Linked DNA regions of Homo sapiens: regions 2, 3, 4 and 5 are each linked to region 1. Evidence: promoter capture Hi-C in human tissues and cell types (Jung and others, 2019). All regions are on one chromosome and are shown on one strand. The core of a region is centred on a gene start or on the middle of the fragment in contact, and the rest is flanking DNA. Distances in the headings are between cores, read along the strand shown.

The links. The method cuts DNA at HindIII sites, captures the fragments that hold promoters and counts their contacts. A contact is called where the count stands out against the background at its distance.
Region 2: a contact is called between a fragment that was not itself captured here and the fragment with the promoter of ZNF708 in region 1, in 1 of the 25 tissues and cell types used here (spleen).
Region 3: a fragment that was not itself captured here is called in contact with the fragment with the promoter of ZNF708 in region 1 in 1 of the 25 tissues and cell types used here (IMR-90 fibroblasts).
Region 4: a contact is called between a fragment that was not itself captured here and the fragment with the promoter of ZNF708 in region 1, in 1 of the 25 tissues and cell types used here (aorta).
Region 5: a fragment that was not itself captured here is called in contact with the fragment with the promoter of ZNF708 in region 1 in 1 of the 25 tissues and cell types used here (pancreas).

What each region holds. Positions count from the first base shown.
Region 1 is chr19:21,324,942-21,330,905 of GRCh38, reverse strand. ZNF708 (zinc finger protein 708) reads left to right here and starts at 1,496. Exons shown (of 4, transcript NM_021269.3): 1 at 1,496-1,696. The coding sequence starts at 1,694. RefSeq lists a silencer at 1,183-1,404 and enhancers at 651-1,639, 1,524-1,703, 1,744-1,943, 3,032-3,553. The HindIII fragment of the contact is 12,621 bases long and covers 1-5,964 here.
Region 2 is chr19:21,115,184-21,120,770 of GRCh38, reverse strand. It overlaps ZNF714 (zinc finger protein 714), which reads right to left. Exons shown (of 5, transcript NM_182515.4): 5 at 1-3,964. The coding sequence ends at 2,439. Among named protein-coding and RNA genes, the nearest start is that of ZNF431, 24 kb to the left of the region's middle. The HindIII fragment of the contact is 5,159 bases long and covers 1-4,327 here.
Region 3 is chr19:21,092,190-21,098,264 of GRCh38, reverse strand. ZNF714 (zinc finger protein 714) reads right to left here. Exons shown (of 5, transcript NM_182515.4): 3 at 1-80. Among named protein-coding and RNA genes, the nearest start is that of ZNF714, 13 kb to the right of the region's middle. The HindIII fragment of the contact is 7,827 bases long and covers 1-6,075 here.
Region 4 is chr19:21,570,263-21,576,312 of GRCh38, reverse strand. LOC101929007 (a long non-coding RNA gene) reads left to right here. Exons shown (of 4, transcript XR_007067176.1): 4 at 4,774-6,050. Among named protein-coding and RNA genes, the nearest start is that of ZNF429, 68 kb to the right of the region's middle. The HindIII fragment of the contact is 3,893 bases long and covers 1,413-5,305 here.
Region 5 is chr19:21,552,603-21,557,908 of GRCh38, reverse strand. No RefSeq gene overlaps it. Among named protein-coding and RNA genes, the nearest start is that of ZNF429, 50 kb to the right of the region's middle. The HindIII fragment of the contact is 4,940 bases long and covers 1,498-5,306 here.

The sequences.
Region 1 (5,964 bases), core at 247-2,746:
GCTGCACTTCAATGTAGCAGCTATTGGCCCTGTGTTGCTACTGGCTGCCTGGAATGCGCCTGGTCTGAACTGCGATGTGCTAGAAAGGTAAAATACGAGTTAGTTTCAAAGGTTTAGTTCCATATATATAGACACACTTCATTAATAATTACATATTTCTCACATATTAAAATGACAATATTTTCGATATATTGGGTTAAATTGTTACAATCAATTTCACCTGTTCTTTGTTTCTTTTTAAAAATAGAGCTAAACTCTTTTTAAAGTTTGGCTACAAATTAGCCGGGCATGGTGGCCAGCGCCTTTTATCTCAGCTACTTGGGAGGCTGAGGCAGGAGAATCGCTTGAACCCGGGAGGCAGAGGTTGCAGTGAGCAGAAATCGCGCCATTGCACTCCAGCCCAGGCAACAATGTGAGACTCCGTCTAAAAAAATAAAAATATAAAATAAAGTTTGGCTACTAGAAAATTTAAAATTTACATGTGGCTCACATTTTATGATTTTATTTTATTTATTTATTTTTTTTGAGACAGAGTTTCACTCTTGTTGTCCATACTGGAGTGCAGTGGCGTGATCTCGTCTCACTGCAACCTCCACCGCCCAGGATCAAGCGATTCTCCTGCCCCAGCCTCCCAAGTAGCTGGGATTACAGGCGCCTGCCACCATGCCCAGCTAATTTTTTTGTATTGTTTTAGAGACGGGGTTTCACCATGTTGGCCAGACTGATCTCGAACTCTGAACCTCAGATGATCCACCCTCTTCGGCCTCCCGAAGTACTGGGATTACAGGCGTGAGGTACAGCGCCCAACTTGTGGCTCACATTTTATTTCAGAGAATTGCCTCCTTTTTAAAATCTCAGGCTGCCTGCTCAAAGGACCAGAAGTCAGGAAGGTCACAAAATATAAAATTTTAGAACAGTTGGGCCGGGCGCAGTGGCTCATGCCTGTAATCCCAGCATTTTGGGAGGCCGAGGCGGGAGGATCACCTGAGGTCTGGAGTTTGAGACCAGCCTGACCAACATGGAGAAACCCCGTCTCTACTAAAAATACAAAAAAATTAGCCGGGCATGGTGGCGCATGCCTGTAATCTCAGCTACGCGGGAGGCTGAGGCAGGAGAATCGCTTGAACCCGCGAGGTGGAGGTTGCGATGAGCCAAGATCGCGCCATTGCACTCCAGCCTGGGCAACAAGAGTGAAACTCAATCTCAAAAAAAAAATTTTTTTTAGAACAATTGGGTTATTATATTCTTTTCATTTGTGAATAGCCATATAGCATATTATTTATAAGGGCATATGACCTTATACACAAGATTAAAGGCAAACACCCTCTCGGGTGGGCCTGGCTCAGCTCAGGGAGGAAGCCTTGCCTGAAAAGGCTGCAGCATAGGCTGTCACACTTCATTCAGCCCAGCATCTGATCACATCTTCCGTCCCTCAGGGCCTGAAGGGGCGGGTTTTAACATTATCCAATCAGGGACTCTGAGCTGGGGACAGTTCACTCAGACACGCAGCTGGACCGGACAGGGCGGCTTCCGGGTTTGGCGCGGCCTTTGTCTCTTGCTGCAGCCGGAGCTCCGGTCTCGTCTTCACTGCTGTTTGTCCTCTGCTCCTAGAGGCCCAGACTCTGTGGCTCTGTGACCTGCAGGTATTGGGAGATCCACAGCTAAGACTCCAGGACCCTCTGGAAGCCTAGAAATGGTGAGAGTGCCGTCCGACATCCCGAGAGAGGGGAAGGGCTGGTTGAAACCTGTGGGAAGTGGCTGTGGCGGGACTCAGGACTCCCCGCAGTCATCTCCACAATCTGCGCTCCGAGTTCTCCTTGCCTAGCTCGGCCTCAGTCCCCTTCAGCCATAAGATGGCGGCTGCGCCGACAGCCGGGCCCCCGGGCGTCCTGTCTCTTCCCTGCGCAGTGACTGTGCCCTGGCCTGCAGCCCTCTCTGGGCGGCTCTGCACCGGCAGCGCCGCGCCTCTCCCAGATTGTGCAGGGACCATGGGAGGGTGGTCAGGGGAGAATCCTGACTTGGGGTCGGGTTCATGAATGGGAAGAGCTTTGGTCTGTGGGGTTCCCGGTTCCTATTTTCTCCTATTAAAAATCTGTGGCAGTCATCGCAAAAAATATTAAAGAATTTAATCAAAGAGTGATTCAATAATTGTAGAGCACAAAAGTATGTTTTGTAGTTTGTGGTTCATGGGAGGAGCTTGAAGGAAAGACTTTTTATAAGGTGCATGATGAAGAAAACTATATTTAATAATCGGTTAGGTACATTTACGTAGCTGTTGCTGTTAAGTAGAAAGCCGGGGACTAGAGCCTCCTCAGTGTAATTGCCTGCCACTTAATTATTCTCACACTCCACAGGGGACTGATTTTCCCCTGCATTTTTCACATGCGTTCCAAGCGGGGTCTCAAGTGTACCTCCCAGCCCCATTCCTCCAGCCTAACTCTGGCCTGCAGTTAGATTTAAACTGCAAATAAACTAAAATACTAAATTTCTAGTTCCTTCTGACATTTCCAAATGCCAGCTTGCCTTTCCTAATTCACATTCTCAACTGTTTTTCCTTTAGTGTACATTTTTGATACTGTATTTTAGTTAATCATTTTTTGACAAAGCATTGGATGGCACTTAAAATTGTTTTCTGGTTGAAAATATTTCTCATGAGAAGAAAGCAAAAAATAATTCCCTGACACTGTATTTTATGAAATTTCTATGGCTTTTTTTTTTTTATCTTCCTCAGGCACAGAAATCTTATCAGAATGTTTGTTTTCAGGTGAAGGTTTTTCTTTGGAAACTTTACGGAGTGATGTGTCTTCAGCCACCCTTCAGTTTTTTCCTGGTCCTGGGTTTCAGTACTGTCTGGAGTAAACCAAGATACACATCATGACTTTTTCTGCTAGAGTGTCTAGTGAATATCAGCTCCTGGGTCATTTTTCTCCCTGAGGACAACCTGAGGTATGGAGTGTAGCTTCTCAAGGGAGCAGGTGGATGCCCTGGGGCTGAGAGGCATCTCCTGGCATACTCTTCCTTTGAAAAGCTAACCCCTTGAGACATTAAGATTGTCTTCACCCAACCCAGCTTCCATTTCTTGGAGACACAGTGCTGGTCAGCCAATCAGATGCTGGTATTGAGGGGAAAACACAGAAATAATTTCTGCCCCCTGAATTCTCTAAATTTTGTGGAAAAAAAAAAGTATCCCAAAAGACAAAGAAAAACCTGACCCAAGTGAGATGGTGCAAGAACTTACAAAGTAAAATGCACCTGGGGCATAGTGTAATGTCTCCTGAGAGGGTGGTTATTGAGCACTTAAGGTGAGCAGAATGGGGTGGGTGAATATCAGTCAGACACATCTGTTTTCTTTCTTTTCTTTTTTTTTTTTTTTGAGGTGGAGTTTCACTCTTGTTGCCCAGGCTGGAGTGCAATGGCACGATCTCGGGTCACCGCAACCTCCGCCTCCCAGGTTCAAGCGATTCTCCTGCCTCAGCCACCCGAGTAGCTGGGATTACAGGCATGTGCCACCACACCCAGCTAATGTTTTTGTATTTTTAGTAGAGATGGGGTTTCTCCATGTTGGTCAGGCTGGTCTCAAACTCCAGACCTCAGGTGATCCGCCCGCCTCGGCCTCCCAAAGTGCTGGGAATACAGGCGTGAGCCACCGCGCCCGGTCTAGACACATCTGTTTTCTAATTAGCACTACCACTCCCTGGGTTTGTCACCTTGAAAAGATTTGTTCACTTATGTTGACTTCCATTATTTAACTGTAAATTGCATTTTATTAATAGGACTTGGAAGGTAAGAAAATATTAACAGAGGGCATAAAAGAGGTGGATTTCAGAAAAAATTAATATTAATCATGTATTTTATTTGTGAGAAATTCTCATTTAAGTTTTCCTTTCTTAGAGTAAGTTTAGGAATTTTCTCAGATGTATTTTTTGTGAATATATATATAATCAAATATATATGTATTTATATTTATATTTAATATGGACTCTTGCTCTTGTTGCCCAGGCTGGAGTGCAATGGCACAATCTTGGCTCACTGCAACCTCTGCCTCCCGGGTTCAAGCAATTCTTCTGCCTCAGCCTCCCGGGTAGCTAGAATTACAGGTGGGCGTGCCACCATGCCCAGCTAATTTTTGTATTTTTTGTAGAGAACGGGGTTTCTCCATGTTGGCCAGGCTGGTCTCAAATTCCTGATCTCAAGTGATCCACCCGCCATGGCCTCCCAAAGTGTTGGGATTATAGGCATGAGCCACCGCGCCCAGCCTATTTTATGAGATTTTGGTGCACCCATCACCAGAGCATTATACACTGCACCAAATTTGTAGTCTTTTATCCCTCGTCCCCCTTCCACTCTTCCCCTCAAATCCCCAAAGTCCATTGTATCATTCTTATGCCTTTGCATCCTTATAGCTTAGCTCCCACATAACAGAACATACCATGTTTGGTTTTCAACTCCTGAGATACTTTGCTTAGAATAATAGTCTCTAGTCTCATCCAGGTTACTGCAAATGCTGTTAATTCATTTTTTATGGCTGTGTAGTATTCCATTGTATATATATACCACAGTTTCTTTATCCATTCATTGATTGATGAGGATTTGGGTTGGTTCCATGATTTTGCTATTGTGAAATGTGCCACTATGAACATGCGTGTGCAAGTATATTTTTCGAATAATGACTTCTTTTCCTCTGGGTAGATACCCAATTGTGGGATTGCTGGATCAAATGGTAATCCTACTTTTAGTTCTTTAAGGAATCTCCACAGTGTTTTCCATAGTGGCTTTTCTAGTTTACATTCCCACCAGCAATGTAGAAGTGTTCCCTGTTCACCACGTCCATGCCAACATCTACTGTTTCTTGATTTTTTGATCATGGCCATTCTTGCAGGAGTAAGGTGGTATCGCATTGTGGTTTTGATTTGCATTTCCCTGATCATTAGTGATGTTGAGGATTTTTTCATATGTTTGTTGGCCATTTGTATACCTTCTTTTGAGAATTGTTTATTCATATCCTTAGTCCACTTTTTGATGGGATTGTTTGTTTTGTACTGATTTGTTTGGGTTTGTTGTAGACTCTAGATATTAGTCCTTTGTCAGACGTATAGATTGTGAAGATTTTTTCTCACTCTATGTGTTGTCTGTTTACTCTGCTGACTGTTCTTTTTGCCGTGTAAAAACTATTTAATTTAATTAGGTCCCTGATATTTATCTTTGTTTTTATTGCATTTGCTTTTGAGTTCTTGGTCATGAAATCCTTGCCTAATCTAATGTCTAGAAGGGTTTTTCCAATGTTATGTTTTATAATTTTTATAGTTTCCGATCTTAGGTTTAAGTCCTTAATCCATCTTGAGTTGATTTTTGTATAAGATGAGAGATGAGGATCCAGTTTCATTCTCCTACATATGGCTAGCCAATTATCCCAGTACCATTTGTAGAAAAGGGTGTCCTTTCCCCACTTTATGTTTTTGTTTGCTTTGCTGAAGATCAGTTGGCTGTAAGTATTTGGGTTTATTTCTGGGTTCTCTATTCTGTTCCATTGGTCTATGTGCCTATTTTTAAACCAGTAACATGCTGTTTTGGTGACTATGGCCTTATAGTGTAGTTTGAAATCAGGTAATGTTATGCCTCCAGATTTGTTCTTTTTGCTTAGCCTTGTTTTGGCTACGCAGGCTCTTTTTTGTTCCACATGAATTTTAGAATTTTTTTTAATTCTGTGAAGAATTATGGTGGTATTTTGATAAGGATTGCACTGAATTTGTAGATTGCTTTTGGCAGTATGGTCATTTTCACAATATTGATTCTACTTATCCATGAGCGTGGGATTTGTTTCCATTTGTTTGTGCCATCTATGATTTCTTTCATCAGTGTCAGGTGTATTTTTTATGGCTTGGTAATTTCCAATAAAATTTCAAGGCTGTTTAAGAATGCTACCAAGAAAAAGAATAGGGGAAATGTCTTTCCCATTTTGGCTGT
Region 2 (5,587 bases), core at 499-2,998, 210 kb after region 1:
AAATTACTAGAGATGTTAATCCATTATGTTACTAAATAGTATATCGTTACCATCTTTTACCTATACCCTTCAGTAAGGTGGAACAGGGTAAAGTTTGTGGTATAATAATGCTTCATTGAATGCACAATAGTATTTAACATGTTAAAAATGTTAAACTATTAACTTCACACAATCTAAAATTTTAAAAATGTACTGCATCTTATATAAAAGTACAATTAGTATGATAAACTAAATTTTAAATAAAATTAAATGTTTTTTCATAATGCAGAATATTACTCTGAACACCAACCTCATGCACCACTCAATATTATAAGTTAACCCCAAAGAACCTCTCCACTTACATTTTCATTATGCATCTTACATTCTAATGTTTTTACTTTTCAATAGAAAAGATCACAAATAATGCCCACCTAATAAAAAAGAATCTCTTGCCAGGAGCAGTGGCTCATGCCTGTGTAATCCCAGCACCTTTGGAGGCCAAGGTGGGTGGATCACAAGGTGAGGAGTTTGAGACCAGCCTGGCCAACATGATGAAATCCTGTCTGTACTAGAAACATAAAAATTAGCTGGGCGTGGTGATATGCGCCTGTAATCCCAGCTACTCAGGAGGCTGAGGGAGGAGAATCGCTTGAAACTGGAAATTGAAGGTTGCAGTGAGCCGAGATCATGCCACTGTGCTCCAGCCTGGACGAAAGAGCAAAACTCCATCTCAAAAAAACAGAACAAAACAAAGAAAGAATCTTTCATATCTTTGATACAGCAATAATTGATCCCATGCTTTCACATGTGAATCCAATAGGAATGAAGAAACGGCAGGAATTTCAGAGTTGAATGACATCATTATTCACTTTTCAAAAAATCTGTAATATTTTTCAAGAAATAAAGTATACTTTGAATGTAATTATAACTGCAAAAAACCTTCTGATCCTCTTAAAGTTATATACAAATAATTTTTCTACCAACTTTAATTTTCTATACTCAGCCCTCTGATTTAGTATATCTGATGTTGTCAGTGCCTTATGTATTTCTACCATAAATTCTGATATTTACACAGACTTACTTATGGATTAAATTTTTTTTAACTTTTACTGCATCTGCAAAAATATATTCTAGTATGAACTCTGTTTTCTAAGCTGTAGTTTTTGAAAAAGTGTTTTTCCAAATTTACTACATTTGCATGATTTTTCTTCAATATAAATTCCCTGATATTGAACAAAGTGTGAAAGTGCTTCAGAGTTTTTCCTCTACAAAAAATGTCTACAATAAGATCTGTGATACAAGTAAAGGCACTACTACCCACTTTATATTTGTAACATTCATCTTCAAAATAAATATTCTTCACTGTAAAGTTCATATTTTCTTTTTTTTTTACTTTTTAGATGGAGTCTTGCTCTGTGGCCCAGGCTAGAGTGCAATCTCAGCTCACTGCAACCTCTCCCTCCCCAAGTTCAAGTGATTCTCCTGCCTCAGCCTCTTGAGTAGCTGGGATTACAGGCACCACCACCGCAACCGGCTAATTGTTGTATTTTTAGTAGAGATGGGGTTTCACCATCTTGGATAGGCTGGTCTCAAACTCCTGACCTCATGATCCACCTGCCTTGGCCTACCAAAGTGCTGGGATTATAGGCCTGAGCCACCACGCCTGGTCAAAAGCTTGTATTTTCTGAAAGGTCTTTTGACAGTAATTGTACTTATAATGCTTTTATTAAGTATGAACTATCTGGTGTTGAGATATGAACATATATTAATGGCTTTTTCAGTCTTTATATTTGTATAATTTATCTCAAGTACAAATGCTTTCCTGTGCAATAAGGTGTGAGCACTGGTTAAGTTTTGCCACATTGTTCACACATGTAGGTGTTTTCTCCAGTATGAATTATCTTACCTACAATCAAGTGTGACAACCATTTAAAGGCTTTGTCTCATTCTTCAGATTTCTAAGATTTCTCACCAGTATAATTTCTTTTATGGTTAGAAAAGTTTGAGGTGTTGTCAAAAGCATTGCCAGATCTTTCTGGTTTGCAGAGTTTCTTTCCAGTATGAATTATGTTATGTCTGTTAAGAATTGAGGGCTTGTTAAAGGCTTTGCCATGTTTTTCACCCTCGTAGGGTTTCTGTACAGTATGAATTTTTAATGCCTAGTAAGAGTTGAAGACTGGTTAAAGGCTTTGCCATATTCTTCACATTTGTAGAATTTCTCTCCAGTATAAATTATTTTCTTAAAAAGGTTCGAGGACTGGTTGAAAGCACTGGCACATTCTTCACAATTGTAGGGTTTCGTTCCAGTATGAATTTTCTTTTCTTTTTTTTTTTTTTTTTGAGACAGAGTCTTGCCTTGTGGCCCAGGCTGGAGTAGAATGGCGCGATCTTGGCTCACTGCAACCTCTGCCTCCCAGGTTCAAATGATTCTCCTGCCTCTGCCTCCCAAGTAGCTGGGATTACAGGCGCCTGCCACCACACCCAGCAAATTTTTGTATTTTTAGTAGAGATGGGGTTTTACCATGTTGGCCAGGCTGGTCTTGAACTCCTGACCTCGCGATCTGCTCACCTAGTCCTCTCAAAGTGTTGGGATTACAGGCATGAGCCACCATGCCCTGCTGAATTTTCCTATGTTTAGTAAGAGTTGAGGATTGGTTAAAGGCTTTACCACATTCTTCACATTTGTAAGATTTCTCTCCAGTATGAATTATGTTATGTTTAGTAAGGTTTGAGGATCGGTTGAAAGCTTTGCCACATTCTTCACATTTGTAGGGTTTCTCTCCAGTGTGAATTCTCTTATGTGTAGTAAGGTTTGAGGATCGGTTAAAAGCTTTGCCACATTCTTCACATTTGTAGAGTTTCTCTCCAGTATGAATTATCTTATGTTTGGTAAGGTTTGAGGATTGGTTAAAAGCTTTGCCACATTCTTCACATTTGTAAGGTTTCTCTCCAGTATGAATTATCTTATGTATAGTAAGTTTTGAGGAGTGGTTAAAGGCTTTGCCACATTCTTCACATTTGTAGGGTTTCTCTCCAGTATGAATCATCTTATGTGTAGTAAGGTGTGAAGACACATTAAAGGCTTTGCCACATTCTTCACATTTGTAGGGTTTCTCTCCAGTATGAATTCTTTTATGTTTTGTAAGGGTTGAAGACCAGTTAAAGCCTTTGCCACATTGTTCACATTTGTAAGATTTCTCTCCAGAATGAATTATCTTATGTTTAGTAAGGTATGAGAATCGGTTAAAAGCTTTGTCACATTCTTCACATTTGTAGGGTTTTTCTTTAACATGAATGAACTTATGTGTAGTAAGGGCTGAAGGGTGGTTAAAAGCTTTACCACATTCTTCACATTTGAAGGGCTTCTCTCCAGTATGAATTACCTTATGTGTAGTAAGGTGTGAAGAATGGTAGAAGGCTTTGCCACATTCTTCACATCTGTAGGGTTTCTCTCCAGTATGAATCATCTTATGTGTAGTAAGGGTTGAGGAGTGCTTAAAAGCTTTGCCACATTCTTCACATTTGAAGGGTTTCTCTCCAGTATGAACTCTCTTGTGTCTAGTAAGGGTTGAGAACCGCTTAAACACTTTGTCACATTCTTCACATTGGTAAGAATTCTCTCTAATATGAATTCTTTTATGTTGATGTAGGTGTAAAAGCATGCAAAATGATTCATCACATTTTTTACATTTGAAAGGTTTCTCTCCAGTATGTCTTGTCTTGTGTCTATTTGAATTGAAAATTTTATGAAAGACTTTTATATATTTATCACATGGAAATATTTTGCTCTGGGTAGTTGTCAAACACTGGTTTAGTTCATTATAACCTTTTTTGTACACCTTACACTCAACCACATTTGCGGAGCCTTTTCTTAACTGTAAATTCTCATGTTCACATTTGCCATGTCTTCTCAGTATCACTTGTTGAAAAGAATCTTTTATGTCTTGCTCTGGCCAAAGGTCTCTGGTAAAAGAAGAACACATAGCTGAAAGAAATACAAACAACAAATTATTCAACTTACTAGACTCTGATAAACATACTTTACAAATCTAACCTATATTATACAAACTACATAAGCAAGATGCCATAATAAAATACCACAGGCCCTAAATCCTTCATAGACATATAAATGTAATAAAAGCATACTGACCAAAATACATAAGGAAAACTTATAAATAAGCATGTAAAGTTCCCCAGGTGAGTACACAGATGAGTACACAGGAATGCAAAGACACAGAAGAAAAAGAAAAGTCCATTACCTTTGCCCAACACAGTTCTTCCTACTCAACAATATAACATACTGCCTTTCAAAGTAAATTGCTAACTTTTGGTTTCTTTTTTAATAAACAAGTAAAATACTGGCACATACATCTATATTACTTGCTTCTAGGGGCCTTTCCAGAAACTGGTCTCCCGTAACATAAAGTGCTGAAAAAAATGGTGGTATATTTTGGAGTTATAGTTTGGGTCTTGAGACCAAAGGTAATTGTTACAGCAGCAGAGAGACTGCAGTACAACAGACAGAAAACAGAGCAAATGGTTACTGATTAAGATGAAGCAGAAATAAACTCCTTTAACTAAAAAGTAAACACAAAATTTTAGACAAGATACATTCTAAGAACATGTTTGAGAGTCTACCAGGATCTCTAACCAAGATAATTGTTTTCAGACTATGCCAGGAGAAAGCTACAAGATAAAAACTGTGTCAGGTAGCTTTATTTAATGTCTAAATTTTAATCAAAGATTACAATGAATACAAAATAGGGCAAAATGGTTCTATCAAAAATATTATAAAATTTTCAGAAAGAAACCATAAAAAAGATGTATATATTAATTTTAAAAATTAAAAATAAATTGAATACTCAATGAGTAAAATAGGAATACAGAGAACTATAGAAAACCAGAAAAAACTGATAAGAAAAAAATATTTAAAATATCCAAAAAACAGAAATTGTAAAGGTAAAAAATATCAAAAGAAAATATAACTCAAAAATTCTGAAAGAAAAAATATTGTCAAAATGAAGAAGCTCAACAAACAATTAGGATACACACAAAGATATTTATAACAAACACATATATAAGCACAATTTCAAAAACCACAGACAAGAAGAGAATGGAGCTGCAAGATAAAAATGGCATGTCATTTACAAGCACAGTCTTATAAGATAGTCAGTGAACTGTCAACAAAAGCTTTGCAGGCCAGAAGGAAACTGTGATATAGCCAAAGTCCTAAAAAAAAATAGCTATCAAGTGAGAATAATACCAGTCCTGCCCAATAAAAAGAAAAAAACCTTCAAAAATAACCAAATTCTGAAAAAAAATATTGGCACTTCATATGCCCTAAACATAAAAGATGCTGAAAGCAGTTGCTTCTACTGAAAATAATACGATTAAATAAAGTAATTTTATAAATAATAATTTTATCATATAAATACATTATTTTCTAGGGAAACATGCACATACACAAAAATGGAATTTCTTAGCATTATAATAATGGCACAAAAAACATTTTTAATTATTCTCTAAAATTTGAAAGGTAAAAGAATAGAAATCATTATAAACATTTGTTAATGATATACAACATAAAATATATGATTAGCAACATCAA
Region 3 (6,075 bases), core at 1,411-3,910, 230 kb after region 1:
AAATTCTGCTGAGCAGGGTTCAGGCATTCCCACTCCTCCAGAGAGAATTCTATGGCCACATCCCTAAATGTCAACGTCTCCTGAAAAACACATACGCACAGACACACGTATATTTACCAAGTGGCCATGGGCAGAATTTATTATTTGAATTAAGGTGAAATGAGAGAGTAAAGAGAATTGGTTGACTTATAAGAATAACTGAAATTATCCAATAATTTTTAACACAGAAATATTCTCTAATGTATTACTCTGAGGGCAGAGAATGGCATAAGATCCACAACACCAGTGCATATATAATACTTTTCTGGATGATAAAGAATATAATTAAGGACACAAACGTATACATTTTTGAGTGCTATATTTACATCATAATGAGTTGTGTATATTTTTCAGACAAAAAAAGACATGTTGAGTTAGATGGTACCTCTCAAATTTAAATATGTACAATAAACTGGAGATCCTGTTGTGAAGCTTTTTTTTTTTTTCCCCAGAAGATCTGGAATAAAGTCTGAGTTTTTAAAATTCTAACAAGGTTACTAGCAATGCCAATGTTTTTGACCCCAGAAGACTATTTTGTCAGACATTCAGTAAGTGAAAGAGATTGTGTTTTTCCCAACTTTTTTGGTCTGTAAACAAAGATAAGAGCCTTCATTTTCCAAAGACACATATGTGCAAAAAACAAACAAAAAAACCTAAGAAAAAAGGGCAGGTGCCAGATTAAATGTGATAGTTTATTAGCTACATAAAGATACTTAACAATAAAGAGAAAAACAATTAACTCTATAGTGAAAAAAAGTCAGAGAGCTCTTTAACCAAGCAAATTATTAACATCAACAACACTAGAATAAATTTTTATGATGTGCTGATGCACAAAGAAGAACACAACATCACTGCTGAGATATTGCCCCTCAAAAAGTCAATTATAGACTGAATTTAACCATAAAGAAAAAATCAGTTTCATGCGAAGGTCAAGATATCTCCCATGTTCTATAATTTTTAGTAATGATTTTAAGTAGTCCTTTCTTTAGCATCCTAGAAAGCAGGTATCTCTGAATAATTTTCTCCAGAACTTCCTGGGTAATAAATGCTATCCTGAACAGGCCGGGCGTGGTGGCTCACACCTGTAATCCCAGCACTTTGGGAGGCTGAGGCAGGCGGATCATGATGTCAGGAGATCAAGACCATCCTGGCTAACACAGTGAAACCCCGTCTCTATTAAAAATACAAAAAATTAGCCGGGTGTGGTGGTGGGCGCCTGTAGTCCCAGCTACTTGGGAGGTTGAAGCAGGAGAAAAGCATGAACCCAGGAGGCGGAGCTTGCAGTGAGCTGAGATTGCGCCACTGCACTCTAGCCTGGGCAACAGAGCGAGACTCTGTCTCAAACAATAAAAATAAATAAATAAATAAATAAATGCCATCCTGTTTAAATAAGCATATTCTTAATCCTGTTCTGCATAGAGCTAATGGAGAACACAAGCGACACCTCAACATTATATGTTCTCCATCTTTACTAAGGACCCCAGCTTTCCCCCAATAGGAATCTTGAGTATCCACATCTTCCCATGTTCAGCAGCCACAAAAGGAACACTTTTAATATGGCAGATCATAAATTCATGGTAGGAATTCTGCATTGCATATAAGAAGCCATGATGTAGAGAAGGCTCTCGTACATAGGATAGAAATATTTTTTAGAGATCCTTGACTATCACAAGAATTTTTAAAAGTATGTGAAACAAAATCATTGGGGAGGGAAAACAGAAGTAGAGAAGTAAAGGTTTGCAAGTACTAAACTCATGGCACTCCAGGAGGCAGAGTGGACACAGCTCTTGATCTGAGATATGTTTAGCTGAAAAGAAGCATTTTTCCTCTTTCTCCTCCTCTAGAAATCCTTTTCAGATAAAATTCTCTGGACAAGTAACACCTGCATCTTGAGACAAGTCCCTTAAAGGCATCAGCACCACCTGCTTACCTACTAGCCTCACACTCACAGACAGAAGGACCAAGACCAAAAAGTCCACTCATCTTTCTCCTTTATAACAGAAGAGATTCAGGAACAATGAGTTGCTCCACGGAAATAAAAATATATGTTCCTCTTTTACCGTCCACAGGTGCCCTCCCCTGCCACAGACACCAACAATTTCTACTACAGTAATGAAAATATGAAAATATGGGCCACTGCCCTGTCCCTACCAAACCCAAACAGAACAGGTCCTGAAGCCACCCTTTAGTGCAAATGTGGCACTTAACTCTCAGGAATGTATCTTGAAGCCTTCATACTTGATTCTGGCCTCACCATAGAGTCATATGAGGCCCTGGAGTTTCACTGTCTTACCACACGTATCTACATGTATCATGATGAAGATACCAAAAGCAACTGCAACAAAAGCAAAAATTGACAAATGGGACCTCTTGGGGTGATCAGACCCAACATCAGGTCGTGGGGGTGACAAAGTCCGGTGGAGTCAAAGGATTGAGAAAAAAGACAGTTTGAGATATAAAGGTGGGACACCAGGCTAGGCGCGGTGGCTCACGCCTGTAATCCCAGCACTTTGGGAGGCTGAGGCGGGCGGATCATGAGGTCAGGAGATCGAGACCACAGTGAAGCCCCATCTCTACTAAAAATACAAAAAAAAAATTAGCTGGGTGTCGTGGCGGGCGCCTGTAGTCCCAGCTACTCGGGAGGCTGAGGCAGGAGAATGGCGTGAACCCGGGACACGGAGCTTGCAGTGAGCTGAGATCACACCACTGCACTCCAGCCTGGGTGACAGAGCGAGACTCTGTCTCAAAAAAAAAATAAAAGATGGAACACCAGGGGGCCATCACCATTATGGAGGCTGTGAAGGCCCTGAGCTCTGGGAGCCCACGGTATTTACTGATAATCCAACAAAGAAACAGGTGGTGAGAACGTGGAGGTCAAAAGAGCAGGCGCATGATCTACAGCTGTGATGGTTTAGCATTATAAGGAACATGTTCTGCTACTTGAGATAATGGGAATAGGAACCTAGGAAAGCTAGAAGCAAGGAGCCAGCAGGTCTAGACACATTCCAGAGGACATTATGCAAGGCCTGCCTCAGTTTCCCTCCCAACACCCAGCTTTTTCCCAACAGGGACCTAATTAAAGAGCTTCTTCATAGCAAAGGAAACTATCAATGGAGTAAACAGACAACATACCAAATAAACAAAAATATTTGCAAACTATGTTCCTGACAAAGGTTTAATACCCAGAATTCATAAAGAAGTTAGGCAGGTTTACAGAAAAAAAAACTTCATTAAAAAGTAGGCAAAAAAACATGAACAGATGCTTTTCAAAAGAAGACAAACATGTGGCTAACAAGCATGTGCAAAAAATGCTCACCACTAATCACTACAGAAATGCCAAAAACAAACTAACAAAAACCACAATGAGACACCATCTCACACCATTCAGAATGGCTGTTGTTAGAAAGTAACAGGCTGGGTGCGGTAACCCCAGCACTTTGGGAGGTCAAGGCAGGCAGATCACTTGAGGTCATGAGTTTGAGAGCAGCCTGGCCAATATGGAGAAATCCTATCTTTACTAAAAATACAAAAATTAGTCAGGCTTGGTGGCACACATCTGTAGTTCCAGCTACTCCAGAAACTAAGGCATGAGAATCTATTGAATCAAGGAGGTGGAGGTTGCAATGAGCTGAGATCACACCACTGTACTCCAGCCTGGGTGACAGAGTGAGACTGTCTCAAAAACCAAAGTCAGTAACATGCTGGTAAGGTTGCAGAGAAAATGGAATGTTTATACACTGCTGGTGGGAGGGTAAATTAGTTCAACCATTGTGAAAAGCAGTGTGGTGATTCCTCACAGAACTGAAAACAGAATTACTGTTTGACCCAGCAACCTCCAAATTGAGTATATATCCAAAGAAATATAAACTATTCTACCATAAAGACACATGCATATGCATGTTTATTACAACACTGTTTGCAATAACAAAGACATGGGCTGGGCTCAGTGGCTCATGCCAGTAATCCCAGCACTTTGGGAGGCTGAGGCTGGTGGATCACCTGAGGTCAGGAGTTCGAGGCTAGCCTAGCCAATATGGCAAAACACCATCTCTACTAAAAATACAAAATTTAGCCAGGTGTGGTTACATGTGCCTGTAGTCCCAGCTACATAGGAAACTGAGGCAGGAGAATCGTTTGAACCCAGGAGACAGAGGTTGCAGTGAGCTGAGATGGTGCCACTGCACTCTGGTCTGGGCAACAGAGTGAGACTCCGTCTCAAACAAACAAAAAACAAAAACATGGAACAAATCTAATTGCCTATTAATGTAGACTAGATTAAAATAATAAGGTATGGTCAGGTGAGGTGGTTCACACTTGTAATCCCGGCACTTTGGGAGGCCGAGGCAGGTGGATTACCTTAGCTCAACAGTTCAAGACCAGCCTGGGCAACATGACAAAACCCCATCTCTACAAACGATAGAAAAAGAAGTTAACTGGGTATGGTGGTGCATGCTTGTAGTCCCAGTTACTTAGGGGGCTGAAGAGGGTGCCTTGAGCCTGGAAGGTTGAGGCTGAAGTGAGCCAAGATTGCACCACTGCACTTCAGCCTTTGCAACAGAGTGAAACACTGTCTCCAAATAAAATTAATTAATTAAATAAAATAGAAGATTTAATAAAAACAAAGTATGGTATGTAAACATGATGGAAGATTATGTGGCCAATAAAAAAACAAAAAAACAAAAACAAAAAAAAACAAGCTGGGCGTGGTGGCTCAGCCTGTAATCCCAGCATTTTGGGAGGCTGAGGCGGGCGGATCACCTGCGGTCAGGAGTTTGAGACCAGCCTGGGCAACATGGTGAAACCCCATCTCTACTAAAAATATAAAATTAGCCATGAGTGGTGGCGCATGCCTGTAATCCCAGCTACTCGGGAGGCTGAGGCAAGAAAATTGCTTGAACCCAGGAGGCGGAGGTTGTGGTGAGCTGAGGTGGCGCCATCACACTCCAGCCTGGGCAACAAGAGTGAAAACTCCATCTCAAAAAATAAATAAATTAAACAAAAACAAGATTAAGTTATTTGCAAGGCCAGGTATGGTGGCTCACGCCTGTAATCCCAGCACTTTGGGAGGCCGAGGCAGGTGGATCACAAGGTCAGGAGATTGAGATCATCCTGGCTAACACTAAAAATTCTCTACTAAAAATACAAAAAATTAGCTAGGCGTGGTGGCAGACACCTGTAGTCCCAGCTACTCGGGAGGCTGAGGCAGGAGAATGGCATGAACCCGGGAGGCGGAGCTTGCAGTGAGCCGAGATCGCACCACTGCACTCCAGCCTGGCTGACAGAGCGAGACTCTGTCTCAAAAAAAAAAAAAAAAAAAAAGTTTAAGTTATTTGCAGCAACATAGACGACACTGGAGACCATTATCCTTAGGAACCTAAAACAGAAACAGAAAACCAAATGCATGTTCTCATTGATAAGAGCTAAATAATAAGAACACATGGACACAAAGAGGAGAACGACAGACACTGAGGCCTAGTTGAGAATAGACAATGAAAGAACAAAAGAAACAGAAAATGTACCTGTTTGGTGTTATGCTTAGTACCTCAGTGACAAAATAATCTACACCAAAACCCCATGACACAATTTTACGTATATAACAAAGCTGCACATGGATCCCTGAACCAAAAAGAAAAGTTGAAAGAAAAAAAAAATCCATGCGTGGGGAAGAATGCAATGTAAGTGGACGGAGTTTTTGTTTTACAGATAGTGGCCCAGGTGGGGCTGGACTCTGATTTATTTCTGTGCCCATGCAGTTAAATGAGATTAGGAACAGGAGGCCCAGAACTCTAGGTTGCTGGGGAAAATAGTTTGCTGCTGCAGATTCACTGTCTGGGGGTTGGGATATGCCAGGAGACTTGACACTTTTGTGGCTTTTTGTCAAGAAACACTAAAATCAACAATGCTGTGGTGAAATTCCTGAGGGTGGTGCCTAGTCCTGGGAGTGGTGTGCACATGTCAATGTCTAGTGGGCATGTTTGGGAGTGGGTGGGAATCCTGTGGTGGCAGCTGTGGGAAAAGGGGGTCTGTCATCAGAGC
Region 4 (6,050 bases), core at 2,110-4,609, 240 kb before region 1:
AAAAAGTGCTTTATGAACAACAGAAAGAGACATGTCAGAGGAAGTGAACCTGAAAGAGTTTCCAGCAGCCCAAGCTGAAACAATGTGAGAAACAAAATAATAATACCCTTGGATTATAACCTAGAGAATAAAAGAGCTATACATGAGTCCATGCAGATATAGACAAAATATAATAAGAAAAAAGGAAAGAAGAAAGAGAAAAAGCAAATCTTTTTTTTTTTTTTTTTTTTTTTTTTGAGACGGAGTCTCGCTCTGTCGCCCAGGTCGGACTGCGGACTGCAGTGGCGCAATCTCGGCTCACTGCAAGCTCCGCTTCCCGGGTTCACGCCATTCTCCTGCCTCAGCCTCCCGAGTAGCTGGGACTACAGGCGCCCGCCACCGCGCCCGGCTAATTTTTTGTATTTTTAGTAGAGACGGGGTTTCACCTTGTTAGCCAGGGTGGTCTCGATCTCCTGACCTCATGATCCACCCGCCTCGGCCTCCCAAAGTGCTGGGATTACAGGCGTGAGCCACCGCGCCCGGCCAAAGCAAATCTTCTTAACAGAATTCTAAGTACTAATCAATGTAGATAGATAATGCAAAATAGGAAATCACTACCAGGACACCACAGTAATAATTACTGTAGATAAAGATGTATTAAAGAATGCACAAATTGTGGGTAAAATTTAAAGGAGAAACAGTGTATTTACATAGCCCAAAATATCTGCCTCCAAATATTTATAATACCATTTTCTCTTAATTTCTTTATAAGACTTATGACTAAAGGAGAAATTGTAAGTATTGTGAGATATAGAATGTGTAGATGTAAAATTTATGAATAGCATAAAAATAAAAGGAGGTAAGTAAAGCTCATCCATAGCAAGGTCTTCATATTTTACATTTATTACAATTGTACAGTATTAACTCTAGGTAGATTGTGATATGTTAAAGATGCATATGGTTATCCCTAAAGAAACCACTAAAAAATGTAAAGAGTTGTCATTTAAATGCTAGTAAAGAAATTAAATTATATATGAAAAAGTATTTGTACCAGAATGTTTATAGACCTTTTAGTCATAATAGCTTAAAGCAGAAAACAACCCAAATGTCCATGTCTAGGAAGATGAATAAACAAATCATAGCTCATTCATACAAGAGAAGGCTACTCAGCCATAGAAAGAAACAAACTGAAGCACACACCTTGGATGAATCTCATAAACCTGCTGAGACAAGCTTGAAATAAAATAATACAAATTGTATAATGTCTGGAAAAATGAACTAATGGTAAAAAAAAAAAATACCAAGTAGCCTCGGTAGAGATTAAAATTGTCTGAAAAAAGCAGGAGGGAATTATCTGAGAATAATAAGAATATTCTATCATTTTATTATAAATTCTATTAATAGAGAAGGGAAACATTCTATTTATTCTTAAAAGATATGAAGGTCATATGGGTGTATTTATTTGTCAAAAATCTTCAGTTAGGATTTGTGCCTTCCAATGTATGTACATATGACGTCACAAAAAACAAAACTGAAGAAAATAATGAAGGGTGGACAATGGGTTGGCCAGGGATGACCGAAGTAGAGAAGAATAGGTGAAACCAGAATGGCACAAGATTAGTAGTTGTTGAAGCTTCATGATAGGTCTATTAAATTATTTTTGTTGTTGTTGTTTTGCATATGTTTAATTTTTTGTAACAAAACACTTGAATAAAAACACAAAATTGATCTACAATGTTAACTCTTAAGATTATGGTTATTGTCTAGGTGCAATGGCTCACGCCTGTAATCCTACCACTTTGGGAGGCTGAGGCAAGAGGATCACAAGGTCAGGAGTACAAGACCAGCCTGGCCCAGATGATGAAACCTCATCTCTACTAAAAATACAAAAAAATTAGATGGGCGAGGTGGCACGTGCCTGTAATCCCAGCTATTTGGGAGGGTGAGGCAGAGAATTTCTTAAACCTGGGAGGTGGAGGTTGCAGTGAGTCGACATTGCGCCACTGCACTCCAGCCTGGGTGACAGAGCAAGACTCTGTCTCAAAAAAAAAAAAAAAAGGTTATGGTTATTGTTGGAGAAGAAAAAAGAAAGTAATTGTTGGAACATGGTTGAGGCTATTTTATGCATTGCATTGCGTTGCGTTGCGTTGCGTTGCGTTGCGTTGCATTGCATTTTAGAGACAGGGTCTCACTCTGTCAGCCAGGCTAGAATGCAGGGGTGTGATCTCAGCTCACTGCAACCTCCACCCCCGGGCTCAAGTAATCCTTCCACCTCAGCTCAAAAGTTTTAAATGTTATCATGCATGAGTCATCTCTAGAATGACAAATGGTCTCTCTTTAACTAGAATGACAACAATTGAGACATATGTGACTATGGAGACACCATAACCTATGAATGACATAATATGGACAAAACCCAAAAATAATGGAAATTGACAGTGGCACTAAGATCGTGAGTTTTTTACACTCTGATCTATGTGAGAACTTTGCCAAAATGGGAGAATTTTTTAAACAAATTTATCGGAGGCCATCATTCTTAACTTCTGCACTAGGTTCAAACAGAAAAACAAAACAAAAAAAGTAAGTCACTCATGCTAAATGTGACATAATCAAATTGAAAATTTCAGAAAATAGGTAGGGCTGGGCACAGTGGCTCATGCCTGTAATCCCAGCACTTTGGGAGGCTGAGGTGGGTGGATCACCTGACGCCTGGAGTTCAAGACCAACCTGACCAACATAGTGAAACCCCATCTCTACTAAAAATACAAAATTAGGCGGGCGTGGTGGCACATGCCTGTAATCCCAGCTACTTGGGAGGCTGAGACAGGAGGATTGCTTGAACTCGGGAGGTGGAGGTTGCAGTGAGCTGAGATGGCGCCATTGCACTCCAGCCTGGGCAACAATAGTGAAACTCAATCTCAAAAACAAAAAGAAAGAAAAAAGAAAATAGGTACATCCTAAAACAGATGAGGTTTGTTTGTCTGTTTGTTTTGGTAAACAGCACATTTCAACACAAGGAGTTTCCCTCTACTCTTTTAAAAATAAATAATAATAATAAAATAATAATAACCTGAAGTCCTTGTTTCTACTTTAAAAAATCCACAGTTATGCTATTTCACAGTGGGATTTCAGACTAAATAAGTACTTCTTTTATAGTGAGAGAGTAATATCAATATCCAAGTTTTTTTTTTTTTTTTAGATGGAGTCTCGCTCTGTTGCCCATGCTGGAGTGCAGTGTCGCGATCTCAGCCCACTGCAACCTCTTCCTCCCGGGTTCAAGAAATTCTCCTGCCTCAGTCTCCTGAGTAGCTGGGATTACAGGCACTCACCAACAGGCCTGGCTAATTGGTTTGTATTTTTAATAGAGACGGGGTTTCACCATGTTGGTCAAGCTGGTCTCAAACTCCTGACCTCAAGTGATCCACCCACCTCGGCCTTCCAAAATGCTAGGATAACAGCCATGAGCCATCACGCCCGGCCAATGTCTAAAGTTTTGGTCTATCTCTCAAAATTAAGATGACCAAAAGGACAAATTATTAAATTAATTACACCATAAAGCTGCCCCCTTTCACGTTTAATTTTGGTCGTTTTTATTTAAAATACTAAACTGAAACCTACCTGGATATGTAAATAGACTGTACCCATTCTTGTACCAATCAATGTGTTTTGGCCAGTAAAATGACGTCAACTGTTCAAACCATAAGGCAACTCCCAAGCTGTAATCAATCTGACTGTTTCGGTACCTGGCTTCCATTTTCCGCATGTCAATTTGCCTTTTCTGTTCATAAATTTTTTACCACCATGTGGCTATGCTGGAGACTCTCTGAGCCTACACAGGCTACCCAATTTGCAAATCATTCTTTTCTCAATTAAACTCTGATAAATTTAATTTCTCTAAAGTTTCTTTTTCTTTTTTCTATGATGAAAATAAATAATGTGTTCTTGGGCTTTGATTTTTCTAAACTCATTCCTCAGCTATTTTTCAAAATTATTATATGTCCATTCAAATGCTTCTGCAATTTTTTTGAGACAGTGTCTCTCTGTATCACTCTGGGTGGAGTGTAGTGGTGCAACCAATCATGTCTCACAGCAACCTTAACACTTCAGGCTCAACCAATCCTCCTGCCTCAGCCACCCGAAGAGCTGAGACGACAGACATGCAACATCATGACTGGCCAATTTTTAAATTTTTTTTCACGGACACAGGATCTTACTATGTTGCCCAGGTTGCACGTAAACTCCTGAACTCAAGTGATTCTTTCATCTCAGCCTCCCAAAATGCTAGGATTACAGGTGTGAGGCACCCTGTGCTTCTGCAATTTCTTGAAAGGATTATTCCCAATCATAAATAGTGCTATATGGGCATACATTTTTTAAAAATCTGGCTTTTACTGTAGCAGCATCTCTCTCCAGGATTTCAAGGATCTACAGCAGCCAAGAGTTTGATGCATGGGCTTTAGAGTCAGAAGAGTTGGTACTGAGTCTCAGGCCAGCCATTTAGTAGCTGTGAGTCTTTGGACAAGTTTCTTGATGCGAAAGAGTTGTATAAACCACATATGCAAAAAAGGCATAATGATATTGATTGCAAAAATGGTAGCAATTTTTCATCCCTCCTATCCATGCCTATTGGCAGGTGCTCTTACAGCTGTTCCCATTGAGATACAGAATCTGTTTTCCCAACCCTAGATCTGGCTGGCCTTATTTGTTCAAGGCACTAGATACTTGTGAACATGACAGTGGGCTAGTTTGGGGCCTGGGCTCAAATGGTGTTGAATGCTTCTGCTTTTCTTTCAGAATGCTGCTGTCTCCATCAATAAAGTCCATGTTAGCCACCTAGAGGATAAAATACCACGAGGAGGAGTAGCAAGGTGCCCCTGTTGACAGATCTTGAAGCACAAGCTCACTCCCAGAAGCACAGCTGCCTAGTCAACAAACAGCTGACAATACATGTCTGAAGGAGCTCAGCTGGGAACAGAAGAATGGCCCCACTGAGCCTAGCCTAAATGGCGGACCATCTCAATTATGAGCTAATAAGTTTTGGATGATTTGTTATGCTGCCATACCTAACTAATACATGCACCCAGTGCAGATTGGGTGTCAAGATTTAAAGACAGTTTGATTATTAGTCACCTTCTAACAATGGGCACCCTAAAGGTACTGACATTTTTCCCGATTTAAAGTTAAATGTCTTGTAAGGCAATGTTGACTGATGCAGGAATACTTGTAGACATGTATGCATGTGATTGGTGCTTATATGCACACAGTCCCCCACACCACAGGAAAAAACCGATGACCAGAGCCTGACCATTATGGCCAAGGCCAAATAGCCAAAGTTTGCCTTTAATCTATTTTCTTCATATCTAAAAATTGGAGGTCAATACTGTGGACAGGTCTGAAGACATAGAGTTTTGTTCTCCTGTGGCCCCATCATTCTTCAGTGGTCTACCTGTGGTTATTTTATTCTTGTTACCTTCTGCTCTTTCTATGACCACTATCTGTTCCACCCTTGAAACTGAAGACAGATGTTAGTAGAAAGAGGCTGTTCCCTCATGTCGGGCATGTGGGATACGATGAGGTTTCTCTTCAAATAGCCTGATCAATCTTTTATTCTTTAATTCATAGTACCCACACACACACCCCTTTTTTTCCTTTTTCTCCTTTTTCCTTTCTGCCTTTGTTAGATGCCCAGGCACGCCACAGTACCAGGCATTATCAGTACCAGCTCACATTTCTTCCCTTATTTGGAAAGAGGACTAACTTTCTAGCTCAATGCAGACACCCCTTCCCCTTCCTCTCTGCATTCTTTTGCATGCCCACCTTATCTAAAAAAATCAAATGTTTAGCCAACCAGGATTAGTTCAGATTGTACGACCCGACCCTGGCCAATGGGGAAAGGGTACAGGGGCAGGACTTGTGTCAGGAATAAAGGCTCTTGTGCCCCTTTGTTCAGGTGTGCTCTCATGGTGACTGGACAAGAACGCACCCCTCTGTGCAGAACTAAAATTGCTTTGCTAGGAATCCTTTGTTCGAGTGTTCAATTTCCTTATGATTTTGAGCGTTATTCCTAACAG
Region 5 (5,306 bases), core at 2,718-5,217, 220 kb before region 1:
ATGATTTATTTTTTATTGCTGGCAATTTATTATTATTAACTTCTCCAAATTAAAAATAAAAACTGATTTACATTTGAGAGTCTATTGTTTATTATATGAAGCTTTTCATGTCTTCAGAAATAATTATCAATTCTTTTTCCAAGGATTAACAATTAACAGGTAGTTGTAACAACATTGCTGTGTTTATATCTCTTCAGATTATTAGATGCGAATAAGTTTTTATAAACAGAATTCTCTGAGGTAGAATTTCTCATATTTTGCAGCCCACAAATCAACATATCCCAAGATAGCTGTGAATTTGGGAACTGCAAGAACTGAGTTCAGATTTGTTCACCCTGGAAATTACAGAGGCAACTTCGCTACCCTTTAACCTTCTGTTGAAGGGCCACTGAGAAGCTGTTAATTTCAACCTGCAAGAGTTTTACCATTTTAGGGTTAGCACTGAAAATAAGAAAAAGGCAATTTTCTTATATTCACCCTATGTAATTAAGTGATAGTAATAGTTACCAAAACAAAGCAAAATGTGAATGGTGACTATTCAGACCATCTGCTCTATCTTCTCTGGATTCCCTGAAGTTTCTAGATTTCTTTTTGAATTCAATAGTATTATGATGTTAATTCTGTGCTTTTGCAATCTACAATATGAGTTCCAGCCAGGAGGTAGAGTTGAAGTTTTTTGTTTGTTTGTTTGTTTTTAATTTGTTTGTTTGTTTGTTTGAGATGGGGTCTCACTCTGTCACCAGGCTGGAGTGCAGTTGTGTGATCTTGGCTCACTGCAACTTCTACCTCCTAAGTTCAAGTGATTCTCCTGCCTCAGCCTCCCGAGTAGCTGGGACTACAGGCTCCCGCCACCATGCCCGGCTAATTTTTTGCATTTTTGTAGAGACGGGGTTTCATCATGTTAGCCAGGATGGTCTCAATCTCCTGACCTCATGATCCACCCGCCTAGGCCTCCCAAAGTGCTGGGATTACAGGCATGAGCTACCGCGCCAGGCCTAGAGTTGAAGTTTTTTGAACTAATCACTGTTGGTAAAGCCTTTCCCTCCTGCACAATTTTTAAAGGTAGATTTGGCCAGGCATGGTGGCTCATGCATGTAATCCCAGCAATTTGGGAGGCTGAGGCAGGTGGATCACTTGAGATCAGGAGTTCAAGACCAGCCTGGTCAACATGGTGAAACCCCGTCTCTACTAAAAATATAAAAAGTACTTGGGTGTGGTGGCAGACGCTTTTAATCCCAGCTACTTGGGAGGCTGATGCAAGAGGATCCCTTGAACCCGGGAGGCAGAGGTTGCAGTGAGCTGAGATCATGCCACTGCACTCCAGCCTGGGTGACACAGCGAGACTACACCTCAAAAAAAAAAAAAAAAAAAGGTAGTTTTGATCAGTGATTAGTGCTGCCCTGCCAGAAATGTGCAGTTTAAAGACAAGTAAACGAATTGGCTAAAAGCATAACTACTAAGTAGTGAGGTCACAGCAGGATCACTGCTGATTCCATTTTCTCCCTTCGGATATTTTCAAGCCTTCATACTCTGTTTCAATGTAACATTAAGAGCATATAACCCGAAGAACAATTCATTTTTCAGCTGTTTCTAGAAGTTATACTTCATTATTGGAGCAGGGGAAAGCAATTTGAAAAGTGTTATTAATTAGCCAATTTAATCTAAATTTTGCCAGAAACTCTTTAAATTCCAAATATAGGGTCCACTTGCTATGCAAATTTAGATCGTTGTTCTTATTATAATTTAGGCAAAGATGTACAAAAAAAAGATAGCAGCTATTTGGATGAAATAAAAATAAAAGATGATTTGGGGGACAGGGTCAAGAGGGCCAAATAAACATTTCCAGTCTGCAGCTCCCAGCGAGACCCATGCAGAAGACAGGTGATTTCTGCATTTCCAACTGAGGTACCCAGTTCATCCAACTGGGACTGGTTAGGCAGTGGGTACAACCCATGGAGGGCGAGCAGAAGCAGGGTGGGGCATCGCTTCACCCACGAAGTGCAAGGAGCTGGGGGACCTCCCTCCCCCAGCCAAGGGAAGCCGTGAGGAACTGTGCTACCCGGCCAGGTTACTATCCTTTCCCCATGATTTTTGCAATCTGCAGATCAGGGGATTCCCTGGTGTGCCTACACCAGCACAGCCCTGGGTTTCAAGCACAAAACTGGGTGGCTATTTGGGCAGACACCAAGCTAGCTGCAGGAGTTTTGCTTTGTTGTTGTTGTTTGTTTGTTTTGTACCACAGTGGCATCTGGAACCCCAGCAAGACAGAACCCTTTACTCCCCTAGAAAGGGGCTGAAGCCAGGGAGCCACGTGGTCTCGCTCAGCAGGTCCCAATCCCATGAAGCTCAGCAAGCTAAGAACCACTGGCTTGAAATTCTCACTGACAGCACAGCAGTCTGAAGTTGAGTTGGGATGATCGAGCTTGGTGGGGGGAGGGGCATCCCCCATTACTGAGGCTTTAGTAGGCAGTTTTCTAGTGCTAAGGAGGCTGGGAGGATTTGTGGGCTGCCAAAATATGGCCAGACTGCTTCTCTAGATTCCTCCTCGCTGGGCAGGGCATCTCGGATGGAAAGGAGACAGCCCCAGTCAGGGGCTTACAGACAAAATCCCCATCTCCCTGGGACAGAGCACCTGGGGGAAGGGGTTGCTGTGGGCACAGCTTCCATAGATTTAATCCTTCCTGACTGCTGGCTCTGAAGAGAGCAGGTGACCCTGACAAGAGGGATTCTCCCAGCACAGCACGTCAGCTCTGCTAAGGGACAGACTGCCTCCTCACGTTGGTCCCTGACCCCTGTGCCTCCTGACTGGGAGAGACTTCCCAACAGGGGTCGATAGAAACCTCATACAGGAGAGCTCCGGTTGGCATCAGGCTGGTGCCCCTCTGTGATGAAGCTTCCAGAGGAAGGAGCAGGAAGCAATTTTTGCCATTCTACAGCCTCTATTTGTGATTCCCAGGTGAACAGGGTCTGGAGTGGACCTCTAGCAAGCTGCAACAGACCTGCGGAAGAGAGGCCTGTTAGAAGAAAAACTAACAAACAGAAAGCAACAACATCAACATCAACATAAAGGACCACCACACAAAAACCCCATCCAATGTCATCAGCCTCAAAGATCAAAGGTAGATAAGTCCATGAAGATGAGTAAAAACCAGTGCAAAAACACTGAAAATTCAAAAAATGAGAATGCCTCTTCTCCTTCAAATGATCACAACCCCTCTCCAGCAAGGGCACAAAACTGGATGGAGCAGGCTGGGTGCAGTGGCTTAAGCCTGTAATCCCAGAACTTTGGGAGGCCAAGGCTGAGGCAGGTGGATCACTTGAGGTCAGGAGTTCAAGACCAGCCTGACCAAGATGGTAAAACCCTGTCTCTACTAAAATACAAAAATTAGCTGGGTATGGTGGCAGGTGCCTGTAATCCCAGTTAATTGGGAGGCTGAGGCAGGAGAATTGCTTGAACCCAGGTGGCAGAGGATGCAGTAAGCCAAGACTGCACCACTGCAATCCAGCCTGGGCGACAGAGCGAGACTCTGTCTCAAAAAAACAAACAAACAAAAACTGGACGGAGAATGAGATTGACGAATTGACAGAAGTAGGCTTCAAAAGGTGGGTAATAACAAACTCCTCTGAGCTAAAGGAGCATGCTCTAACTCAATGCAAGGAAGCTAAGAACCTTGACAAAAGGTTAGAGGAATTGCTAACTAGAATAATCAGTTTAGACAGGAACATAAATGACCTGATGGAGCTGAAAAACACAGCATGAGAACTCTGCGAAGCATACACAAGTATCAATAGCCAAATCAATCACGCGAAAGAAAGGATATGAGACTGGAGATTAACTCAATAGAATAAGTCGTGAAGACAACATTAGAGAAAAAATAACAAAAAGGAATGAACAAAGCCTCCAAGAAAGATGGGAGTATGTAAAAAAACCAAACCTATGATTGATTGGTGTACCTGAAAGTGATGTGGATATTATCCAGAAGTTCCCCAACCTAGAAAGACAAGCCAACGTTCAAATTCAGGAAATAAAAAGAACACCACTAAGACACTCCTCGAGAAGAGCAACCCCAAGACACAAAATCATCAGATTCTCCAAGGTTGAAATGAAGGAAAAAATGTTAAGGGCAGCCAGAGAGAAAGGCCAGGTTACCTACAAAGGGAAGTCTATCAGACTAACAGCAGAACACTCTGTAGAAACACTAAAAGACAGAAGAGAGTAGGAGCCAATATTCAATATTCTTTTTTGTTTGTTTGAGACAGAGTTTTGATTATTGCTCAGGCTGGGGTGCAATGGCACGATCTTGGCTCACCATAACCTCCAACTCCTGGGTTCAAGCGATTCTCCTGCCTCAGCTTCACGAGTAGCTGAAATTACAGGTGCACGCCACCACGCCCGGTTTTTGGGCTCACGCCTGTAATCCCAGCACTTTGGGAGGCCAAGGAGGGTGGATCACCTGAGATTGGGAGTTCAAGACCAACCTGGCCAACATGGTGAAATCCTATCTCTACTAAAAATACAAAAATCAGCCAGGCATGGTGGCAGGCACCTATAATCCCACCTATTCTGGAGGCTGAGGCAGGATAATCACTTGAACCTGACAGGCAGGGGTTGCAGTGAGCCAAGATCATGCCACTGCACTCCAGCCTGGGCAACAGAGCGAGACTCCATCTCAAAAAAAAAAAAAAAAAAAAAAGCAAAAGAATTTTCAACCCAGAATTTCATATCCAGCCAAACTAAGCTTCGTATGCAAAGGAGAAAGAAAATCCTTTACAGACGAGCAAATGCTGAGGGATTTTGTCACCACCAGGCCTCCCTTAGAAGAGGTCCTGAAGGAAGCACTAAATATGGAAAGGAAAAACCAGTACCAGCCACTGCAAAAACACATCGAACTATAAAGTCCAATGACACTATGAAGAAACTGCATCAACTAATGTGCAATATAACCAGTTAGCATCATGATGACAGGATCAAATTCACGCATAACAATATTAATTTTATATGTAAATAGGCTAAATGCCCCAATTAAAAGACACAGACTGGCAAATTGGATAAAGGGTCAAGACTGTGCTGTATGCAGGAGACCTATCTCACATGCAGAGAGACACATAGGCTCAAAATAAAGGGATGGAGGAATATTTACTTACCAAGCAAACGGAAAGAAAAAAAAAAAAGCAGGGATTGCAGTCCTAGTCTCTGATAAAACAGACTTTAAACCAACAAAGATCAAAAAAGACAAAGAAGGGCATTACATAATGGTAAAGGGATCAATGCAACAAGAAGAGCTAACTATCCTTAATATATATGC